Linked DNA regions of Homo sapiens: region 2 is linked to region 1. Evidence: promoter capture Hi-C in human tissues and cell types (Jung and others, 2019). All regions are on one chromosome and are shown on one strand. The core of a region is centred on a gene start or on the middle of the fragment in contact, and the rest is flanking DNA. Distances in the headings are between cores, read along the strand shown. Region 1 holds the start of ABCA12 (ATP binding cassette subfamily A member 12). Region 2 overlaps VWC2L (von Willebrand factor C domain containing 2 like).

The links. The method cuts DNA at HindIII sites, captures the fragments that hold promoters and counts their contacts. A contact is called where the count stands out against the background at its distance.
Region 2: a fragment that was not itself captured here is called in contact with the fragment with the promoter of ABCA12 in region 1 in 2 of the 25 tissues and cell types used here (small bowel and spleen).

Annotation. Positions count from the first base shown.
Region 1 is chr2:215,135,058-215,140,628 of GRCh38, forward strand. It overlaps ABCA12 (ATP binding cassette subfamily A member 12), which reads right to left and starts at 3,569. Exons shown (of 53, transcript NM_173076.3): 1 at 3,083-3,569. The coding sequence starts at 3,151. The HindIII fragment of the contact is 12,690 bases long and covers 1-5,571 here.
Region 2 is chr2:214,446,451-214,452,122 of GRCh38, forward strand. The region is part of intron 3 of VWC2L (von Willebrand factor C domain containing 2 like); the gene reads left to right. Among named protein-coding and RNA genes, the nearest start is that of VWC2L, 38 kb to the left of the region's middle. The HindIII fragment of the contact is 6,694 bases long and covers 1-4,811 here.

The DNA of each region.
Region 1 (5,571 bases), core at 2,319-4,818:
GTTCAAGCGATTTTCCTGCCTCAGCCTCCCAAGTAGCTGGGATTACAGGCACCTGCCATCCCACCCAGCTAATTTTTGTATATTTTTAGTAGAGTTTTGCCATATTGGCCAGGCTGTTCTTGAACTCCTAACCTTAAGTGATCCACCTGATTCGGCCTCCCAAAGTGCCGGGATTACAGGCATGAGCCACTGCGCCCAGCCCCAGCATATACTTTTATAATCAACACATTTCCTCATTTATCTCCAATCTACCTTAATATTTTTACTATATCTTTGTTTTCCTTTGCTTTTTTCATGTGCCATTTGTTTCTCCATTAATAGATTCTTAACTTCTTCTCTTTTGAATTAGTCTTCCCACCACCTTGCTTTGTGATGGAATTTCTAAAAAATATTAGGCAAAGTTGTCATGGTGGTGATGCTTCCATTTTTCTTTACCATTAAGTAAGGACTATAAATTTCCTGTGTCCATAGCTTAATTTCTGTTTTGCTGTGAGTAAAAGTATACTTTGAAAGTACAATTTTTAGAATGATTATGAATGTAGAAATATAAATGCTTGCATTTTAAATTATTATTTGATGGATAACCAAGTCTAGTTCCTACAAAAACACTCTTCTCCTCAAATTCATATGTACCTTCATTTCACATTTTGTCTGTCTTCTAATTTGCCTATAATTTCTCTTTAGACAATTTTTTTCATTTTATCCCCCTTTAGATCTTTAATTCCAACTTTCCAACCTCTTATTCCTCTCTTCCTTTTTAAGTGTAATGCCATCGCACATATATCCTTCCCACACGTGTCTTCAAGTCTTTTTCCCAACATGGAGAGACAGAGCTGACCCTAGGCGAAACTGTGAAGGAAATTTCTCTTTCTTTGCCCTTTCCCCCTCCACTCAGAATTGTCCTTCCTTTTCCTTTTGCATCACCATCTTCTACAGGTCTCTCTTGTCCCTCTGGTTGGTTATAATGGATTCAGGTTGGCCTCTGTATTGTCCCAAATTTTGGACTTTCTCTGACCTCACTCTGCCGTGAAGACTTATCTGTTCTGGTTTCCATTTGTTTAAGGTGCACTTAAGATCTGAATCATTCCCTGTCCCAAAATGAACTAATGGCTCATGTATTCTCCCTCCCTAGGAAAAGTATAGTTACCAGAGTTTATTTAGGGGTTTTGACTAGATGGGAATAATGCAAGGTGTCATGCTTGAAAAACTTTTAATATCTGACTTACATCTCCCCTAAATATTTCACCATGTCCACAAACACTGACTAAAATGAAGAGAAACCCCAAAGGAGAAAATTGATATACCTACTACTTTCAAAATGAGGAAAAAAATTTGTCATTAAAATTTCTAAAGATAAAATTTCTCAATGAAAAACAAACATCTTCACCTGAGATTTGGGTGTTTTTTTTTCCTATAACTTTTTTTACACAAAATAGAGTTGTAAAAGAAACAGACCTCAGCATTCAGATTATTGACAATAACACGTACAGATTTTAGTTCCTCTGTGTTTTTGTTTTTAGCTATTGAATTTTTATCACTTACAAACTTGACTGTACGTGGATTTCTTCCTTTTACCCACAGTATCTTCTCCTGAATTTCCTTTCATTATTAATCTGCATAAAATATGACACACATTGCCTCAAATCCCTCACTAATCTATTTGCTAAGTGTGTCAGTATTATAAAGCACTTTGAAATACATTAGCACATTTGGTACTTCCCCCAATGAGTTAGATGTGGCAGGCTTCATGCCACATCTAACTAATCATGTCACGTCTAACTCATCATGCCACATCATGGTGGGAAAAACAGTGCTTAGAGAAACTGTCTTAAGCTACTTAAGTTACATGAGGAGCAGTGGCAGGGGCCCCAACTCGCATGCTCTGACCACATGACCACATCCACACACCCAGGATCCTTTCCCTGCTTATGCCACACAGAATCAACCACATGATAATTATGGGGAGGTTTTCTTCTGTGCTTTTTTTTTTCCAGTTAAAAAACAAATAAAAACATGAATGAGTTTATAATTTTATATTCAAACCCCACACCCATGCAATCACATGCCTTAGAATTTTAAAACCCTACCCACAAAATTCACAAGGGTAAATGAACATCTACTTCCTCCTCTTACTACACACATCAAAACACTCAAGTAAAGTGTCAGGCAATCCAAGCAAGCCTGGAGCGAGATAAGGTGCATAGATAAAGTGCTGGTTTCTGTGTGATGCATATTATTTGCATAATATTTACATTACTCATTCAAGGCTGGGAATTACCACTTTAAAATAAAGTATATTGAATACCTTTTTGGATTTCCCCGATTTTCAAACATTCTTCTGAATATATAACAACTCCCAGAAACCAATTCCTTTCTCAATCATCCTGGGAGCCATCTGATGAGGATCTAATAGCTAACTTTGTAATTAGAACGCAAACATTAATGTAAGAGTACAAAAAAGACGTTGCAATGAGCAAGAGAAGATAGATTGTAGTAGTAAAGCTAAGTGATTCAATAATATTCTTAAAACATAGCACATATACATACTCTTGTTTGGTATTCCCAGTAAATGATTTTTAGATACTAAAATTTCTCAGTAGCTTTTCTATACTAATAGCCTTCAAACTATTTCTGTTCTGTATTTTACCTTTCAACCAAACTTTCTATGGCTTTCAGTTTTCCAGTATATTTCTTCCCATTTATTGTACATTTCAAATAATACTTTTCTTTCCTCTATCCCATTTTTAACTACATTAAGAAAAATTCTGAAAGCCTTTTGGCTTGAAACCAGAATTCAACGTTCCAGTTCAGCCAGTAATGAGTCATGTTCTTTTTTTTTTGCCCAGGGCATGTCCTGGTTTACTCTTTAATTTACTGAAATGAAAAGGCTGCTTTTGGGGGCATGTTAAGACTCGCTCCATTAGCTATAAGACAGATAGGGGGATGAATTCTAAATATCTTACTTCCTGCTTTGGAAAATGCCTTTAAACTCTTCTGTTTTCACTTCTCATTAAGATCACATTTTAGGATTACCTGGCGTATTGCCCCATGACCCATACTCCCACACTTTTTTTTAACTCACCGGCTGCCTTTTTACACCTAGCCAATTTTTCCAGACCAGGATCTGAAGCTGATGAAACAGGGAAGCCATCCTTCAAATGCCCCAAATGAGAGATTTCCTCTTCTTTTCTCCACTCCACAAATGAAGAACTGATGCCCCGTCCAACTTGCTGTATGTCAGTGTATCAGTACCCCTTTCACGGCATAGCTTCCTTGAGGGCTGGGGTAAGAAACCCACAGTTCTTCTGTTTCTGCTGGATTTTTCCCTGTGGTTAATCCTTAACCAAGAGGCACTTCTCAATCAACTCTTCTTCCAAAAGAAGGACCCAGATCAGTATCTTTGGGTGGCTTATGCTTATTTTAAAATAATATCCAGTTGCTGCTTGTTGCACGAAGTCCAGACTCAAGAGAGAATGAGCATCATTCAGATAATGCCTCACTGAAAAAAAAAAAAAAGCAGCAGCTGAACCCACACCTCCTACTCTCCATGAAATTAATTGCCTATCCACACCTTAGAGAACATGTCACCTGCACTGGATGCGTCACAGGGACTAGGGGGTGGGACCTTTGCAAGGCCAGTAGGACTTGTCCTACATTCTCTTGTCTTCTTTCCTGCACACAGTGTCTGCTCTAGCAGAGGCAGGGCACAGAGAGCATTTCACAGACACTGGGCCCAGTGACTCTTTAATATTAAAGTGTCATTAAAATGATTTAAGTCAATAAGGCCAGAGCTTAGCTGCAAAGCTCTGAGCCTCAGCCCATCATTAGATATACTAGGGAAAGTGTCCACCTTTAACCTAAAGTTGAATGTTTCGATTTTGGGGGAAGAAACTATGTTGGCCAGGTCCCACCTTTCATCACAATGTACTAGGTTAAGCACAGGGCAGAAAAGGAAAGGTAGGCTGTAGGGGACATAAATTACAAACTGGAGTCCCTCAATTCGTGAGTGGAGATTCACGTGTCTATTACAGACAAGCCACATTGTTTCAGGCTCTTATAGTGAAAGGGGACACAGGCTGATCCAAGACATTTCTATTTCCTCTTTCCATGATACATTCCTCCCTCTCTAAGATCCTGCCTTTCAAAGTTATCCCCAAGTTGACATCTTCAATGAAGCCTTTTTGGATATATCCCATAGGATAGATTCTCTTGCCTTTGAATCATTCTTTGTTGCCCTCTCTCAAGGAACTTAAAGTTTTTGCATTATTTTTATTTGTGTATGTCTTATTTTTCCTACAAGATTATAAATTATTTGAGGACATGGACTATTTTATATCACAGTACTTTACATATCATTAGTGTTCAATACTTGCTGCTGAATGTAATTGAATAAACTACTGGAGCCAAGGCTAGTAGGGTGAAGCTCCCCTTTGATCCTCACACCTACCCTGACTAATCCAGACTTTACTTGCAAAATCCGTTAAAGCATTAAGAGTTCTCCCTTCGCCAGGTGCGGTGGCTCATGCCTGTAATCCCAGCAATTTGGGAGGCCGAGACGGGCTGATCACTTGAGGTCAGGAGTTCAAGACCAGCCTCGCAAACATGGTGAAACCCCGTCTCTACTAAAAACACAAAAATTAGCCAGGCATGGTGGTGGGCACCTGTAATCCCAGCTATTTGGGAGGCTGAGGAGGGAGAATCGCTTGAAACCGGGAGGCAGAGGTTGCAGTGAGCTGAGATGGCGCCACTGCACTCCAGCCTGGGCAAAAGAGTGAGATTCCATCCCCCCTCCAAAAAAAGGAATCTAGCACAGGTCCTGCCTCATAGTAAGTAGTCAATTAATTCTATTAATTGGGTAGCAATGTTTGCTAAGGACTTATTGAATCATCCTAGGAGTCCTATTATATAGAAACTGTCATTATTCCCATTTTCAGTGAAAGAAAGTGATATTTAGAAGTGCCATAACTTGCTGGATTTCACCTAGTTAGCAGTGAGGACAGTGGGAACAGCAGAGAAGGAACTCGAACCTCGTTTCTGTACTGTTAATCTCTGTGCTATGTTTTCTCCAGTCCCATGTATTACACTTCACAGGAAGAGCTGAGAAACAAATGAACATCAGGGATTTTCCCTGTTTCTCTAGGCAGGTCTATAAATCACTTGTAGAGATTTTTTTGTAAGTACACGCATGAAAAATTATGGCCAAAATGAGTTCACAAAGAGTAGTTGCTCCAGGAATTCAGGAGAAGGAAGGCTGCTCTTTTAGGCTTCTTCATAGAGCCTCACGGCACTTCCCAGCCTGGCTCTTGCCAGCTTCATCAGTTGTCTCTCCACCTTCAGCCCTCCCTCCTGCCATCTGCTAGAATACTTTAGATGAGGACTGTTCACTTTCAGGCTTTGGTCATGCTGTTCCCTCTGCCCAAAATGAAATTGTGCTCATTCTCAAATGACTGACTCAAGTGTAACTTCCCCTCTGAAGCCTTTTCCAGCACTTCCACCCACCACACCCCCACCCCCGGCTGAATTAATCACCCCTTCATCTGTTTTCCCATAAAGCTTTGTTCGCACAGATAG
Region 2 (5,672 bases), core at 215-2,714, 690 kb before region 1:
AGGATTCCCTCTTAATTCATCAGCAAATTAGATTTTAGAAGTATTATTTTACAATGTTGACACAATAAAAATTAATGCCATGTTCATTTCCTGCTAATCATATCGCTTCTAGAATTATTAGGGCTACCTGGTCTTCAAGAAAATGCAGAAAGGAAGGCTAACGTGCAAAATTTTGAATGTTTTCTGTGTTTCTCACTTAAGATATGGAAAATACTTGGGGACTATTTTTTCCCTAAGTAAATGTTTGAAATGTTGAGTCCAGTCCCCCCACAAAACATACATTTTTTCCCTTGAAAACAGACACATTAGGAAGTTGCATGCACTGCTTCAAGTGGTATGCAATACTTTAATGTTCAGTACCCCATTCTGCAGGACGCTTGAGAGACTGATGGAAGGGTGTTGAACACATACATATGGAATTTTTTTTCATAAACATTCATATAATCTTGGAGATAATCGGACTCAAAAACAGTAGCTAGGCATACTGCTGAGTGTATCCCTGAAAACTATTCTTAAACCTCGTTCCTGTCTCATTCTTGAACCTCTCTTCATTTACGGTTTTTATAGAATATTCCTGATTTCTAGGATTGTAGACAGACTCTCTAATAAACTACCTCTGTGAAGTGTGCATGGTAGAAACTGGGAAACTGGGATCACCTTGGGAGTTGGATATAGTTTCAGAATTAAATGGGGTGGGGTCTGACTGGGAAGTGAAGGCATTCGCTGTTGCCAAGATTCATGAATACCTAGAAATGATATCTCTCCAGAGAGGTTCAAACCACTGGCTACGGGAGAGCCTCATTGAAGGTGCAATACAACTCCTCAGTCTCAGGAGTGGTGAGTCTCCAGTCCACAGTGACCCCCAAGCTCTTCTTCACAGAGCCCAGACATCCATGTATCTCTCAGAGGTACCCAGAGATCAAGTGGTAACTGCTCACACTGAAGGCACAAATTAAGGTACACAGTCTAACTTCATCTAAACCTACTCTCTGATGTAGACATGCTAGGAAGTTACATTCACTTCTTCACTTCACATCAGCACTGGGATATAATACCCTAAGCTTTTCAGGGAGTTGGAATCCCAGAGCCAACCGCGCCCTACCACCCCACCACCATACCCTGAACTGGTTTTGTGTAACCTTTGTGCAGGCTGACAAAAATAAAAACAAAGCTGTGGTGTGTTCTTCATCCTTAAATGTAAATGCCTTCAAAAGAGTTCAGGCAAGATGAGCCTAGAAGGCCTCTAGAAGGTTATCCCTCTATCTTCCTCAGAAGTTTTACACATCTGGAACAAGAGACTCTAATGTTCAGATTCCTCGGGCACAGAGTCCCAGATTCCCTCCGTCTAAACCTTCTTGGGCTCTTGCATCTCCACGTCATTGTTGAAGAAGGATGCTGGGTGGTCCTGAAAAGATCCCAACCCCTCCTTTCCCAGCAGTCACTGTCTTACCCTCACTGCCTGGCTTGGAAATCTTAGGACTGATCTCATGATGCCCTTTTTCCCTGCTTGTCTCAGACCCCACCAGAAGCCCAGAACCACCAGGGTATCCCTCAAACCCTGGACTGTGATCCCCATGTGGTTCTATGAGCTATGAGTTAACAACCCAAATCACCACTGACGAGTCCATTTTGCTGCTTTATTGTTCTCCACCATACCTACTGCCACATAAACAACTACTTTACCTATTGACTTACTGGTCTCCCCTCCTCAGGACACAGGGGTAAACCCCATGAAAGCAAAGATTTCTATCTATTTTGTTCACAGTTGTATTCTTACTATGTACAACACATTGTAGATGCAAATATATATGTTTGTGAATAAATGAATCCACACACACCCATATTGTATCTTCAATATAGCTGTAATTAAATAAGAAGTCTGATTCTTTGAGTTATTTTAAATTACCTTTTGAAATGTATGTTTTCTATTTCATACAGAATAACTTTCACATGGAGAGTCTAGGATGCTTTTGGTGGTGGGAAGGAAGGTGCTTCTCAGAAGATTACTTTTATAATTAAGTTTGGTTTTGTTTCCCACTAAGATTAGCCTGCACATATTAACTGATAGGAGGCAGAGCCAGATGATCTAGAAAAGACAGACGGATTGCCAGGGGAAACCAAGTCTAGCTTGAACTTTTACTGTTTCATAATCTCACCATGGATACCTAAAGCTCCTGTTTATTAAGAACAGACTTCATGTAATGTGTGGGTCGCTTTAGTGCAAAATTAATGTTATACATTACCCAGTATCATTCTCAATGATTTATCAAATTCTAAAGATAAAGTATGTTAATGTCTGCAAAACACCTGAAACATACCAGGGCTTAATAAACAAGAGCTAGTGTTACTTAGTAGTTACATTAATTATCATCATTAGACCAGCCATTGAGAAAACATGTGAAAAGGGCAGCTGTTCCCTTAGAAGGTACCATCAGCAAACACCCCTTTCCATCCTATTCTCCCAGCACTCAATGCCCTCTGAGTCATCCTACAGGCACCTATCCCAGATGTCTTCTCCTCTATGGGCCAGGACCCTCCTGCTGTTCCCGTCATCCAAGGTTTGCTCTTCCCCACATTCCAACTAATTGGGGCCATATTTTATGACTCAGTCATCTGATTAACCCCAAAATGCTCCACCTTGGGAAAATATAAGTAACTAAACTGGTGTGTTTAATACCTGATGTCCCAGCTATTTCCCTCAAATGTTTAGTGGCATTCATTATGAAAATTGTAGAAGGGAAAGGGATTGAGAGTGTGAGAGTATTTTTGAATGTGTGTGGATACCTAGATATACACTGTGGTAGGCTAGAAGTATTGAGCAGCTTTTCTGTCCATCTCAGATAACATAGCATAGGGGGTTGATTGGACTTTTTAAGAGGTTACAAAGCCATGAGCATTGATGAAATATGTGATTTGAAACATTTTGGTAAAATCAACAGAATTTAATGTGAAGACAAGAAACAAAGAAAATGTGCCTTGATATCAGAGCAGTGGGAGAAAAAATTGATTGTAGGAGATAATAGTTAATTCTAGATATCACATTATGTGACTTAAAAATAAGTCAGAAATATGGCATAAAACGCAAACAAAGGAAACTTGCAACCAATACCTCTTTTGACACACAGTGATTGGGAAATCCTCCAAGAATTGCTGTGGCAGTGGCAGGAAGCCCTTGCAGCGAGACCTCTGATATTTAAATGTAGCTCTGAGCTGCTTCAAATCAATCTATCAGAAATGTTAAACCTCTTTTGAAATATATTTATGGTTGGATACCCCTCAATTGAGAAAGGGGAAATAGGAAGTTCCTGCATACATACTTATTTTGCTTACATGTGCTTCATTTGTACAAGGTGATAGAAAAGAGCAGCCATAAATGCTACTGTTTGTCAGGGTGGATAACTAGCCAGCCCCGAGTCTTTCCTTCCTTTTACCCATTACTTTCATATGTTTTGCAGAAAGGTCCCTAATGCAATATATCTGCCTTCTGGAAGGCTAAGCTCGGTTACTTTCCCATGTTGTTAAATAATTAGATAGTTGGCAGTGTTGCGTCCAAATTTTGAAAGCCTCCTGCTCCAACTTTCTGTGTTAGGGTTTGAAATAGGGGCAAGATGCAGGGCACTGGGCACTGATTCATGTGTTTAAGGTGTAGGGTTATTGATGTCTTTGGATTAGATGTGATGACTCCTTTGCGAATGGGGAAAGATGACAATGACAAGGAACCCAGGAGGAAGTCTGCAGTGAAGAGGAAAGCACGTGAGCCTTTCAAGCCAGAACTCCTGCAGGCTGACGGCAAAATCTACATTGAATTCTTGTACTTACAGTAAGTGCAAGAGTCAGGTCTCAGCTGAGTGAAGTAATCAGCCCCCTAGGCAGTGTCATCAGAGAGGGACAGAAAAGCTGTTCAACCCATCACTATGGTGACCCTTCTAGCCTATCACAGTATGTGTCTAAGCACCCATGTGGATTCCAAAATACTCTCACACTCCAATTCCTTTCCCTTCTAAAATTTGCATAATGAATGTTACTAAAAATTTGAGGGAAAGAGTTGAAACATCAGGTATTAAACACATCAGTTTAGTTACATATATTTTCCTAATGTGGTGCATTCTTGTGTTAATCGTATAACTAGGTCATAAAATATGGACCCAATTAGTTGGAATATGGGGAAGAGCAAACCCTGGATGACAGGGAGACAGCAGGAGAATCCTAACCCAGGGAATAGAGGGCTCCTGGGAGAGATGCCTGTAGGATGAGTCAGGGGGCAACAGGTGCTGGGAGAGTGGGATGGAAAAAGGTCTCTGTTGATGACACCTGCTGAGGGGAATGGTTGCCCTTTTCACATGTTTTCTCAATGGCTGGTCTAATGATGATTAATATAACTACTAAGAGTAACACTGGCTCTTGTTTATTAAGCCCTGATATGTTTAGGTGCTTGAAAGCATTAACATGTTTAACCTTTACAACAGTCCTATAAAGGGGAAATAATTATAATTACTAATTTGTGGAGGAGGAAGCTGAAGCTGAGCTAAAATAAGTAAATTGCCCTTAGATTGCTGAGTTTTGAACCACACTCCATCAAATTTCAAAGCCTGCGTTCTTAATCAGTAGTTCCTAAAGCGTAGTCCCAGACCAGCAGCATCAGTATTAGGTAGAAGCTAGTTAAAAATGCAAATTTCTGAACCCATTCTAGATTTTTTCAATCAGAAAATTTGGGACTGGGACCCGCATTCTATGTCTTAACAAGGCCTCCAGAAATTCTGTTGCTCAAAGATCAAGGAATATATACTTCTTTTTAGGTGCTAATATTAAGAAATTCATTCTAAAAATCCTTCCTAAGGAAGGATAAGTGGGTCGGTGTGGGGGGGGGGGGCAGTAAAAGCTGAAATAATTGTCATCCAATGACTACCTGTGAGAATGTTCTACTAAGATAAGAAGAAAGATAAGGCTGGAAAGGAAGGGTCAGACCCCAAAATGCCCAGGAGTCAAAGCAAAGCCACCTGGGTTGGAGAAGATCTATGAATGCTAAATCTCAGTAGGGGCAAAGGCAAGTCCTTCAGGGCCTAGAAGTGGAAATAGGTGGGAGATACCAGGGAGATAGTATTCAGGTTAAGCTGCCAAGAAGGGCTATTCTTAAGGCTCATGGCATTTTTTAATAACAAAGTCATGAGCATTGAGAGCTAAATTCAACCAATTTTTAAAGGCAGCAAAAGTCACTCAAGAAGGCACAATAATGAAAGGAAAGGCAATGTGAGATGAATAATGGTTGCTAATTCCTTTTTCATTCATCAGAGTCTTTACTGATGTATTATAAAGAAGTGCTTGTTTCAAGTAACATATTCTTTCTGGATATGAGTCATGGCAACTATTAATAAAATTTTATGTCGTGATTTTATTTAAAAATTTTCATTTTTAAATAATTCTATCGAGATATAATTAAATGAACTGTACATTTTTAAAATATTTCCTGTTCTGACATGTATACCTGTGAAACTATTGTCATAATCAAGATAATACACATATTCATCACTCCTAAAACTTCCTTCAAGTTCCTTTATAGTTCTTCCCTCCAGTCCTTCTCTGCCCCATCCCATTCCAGGCAATCTCTGTTCTGCTTTCAGTCCTTGTACATCAATTTGCATTTCCTAGCACTCTGTATGCATGGAATCATTCAG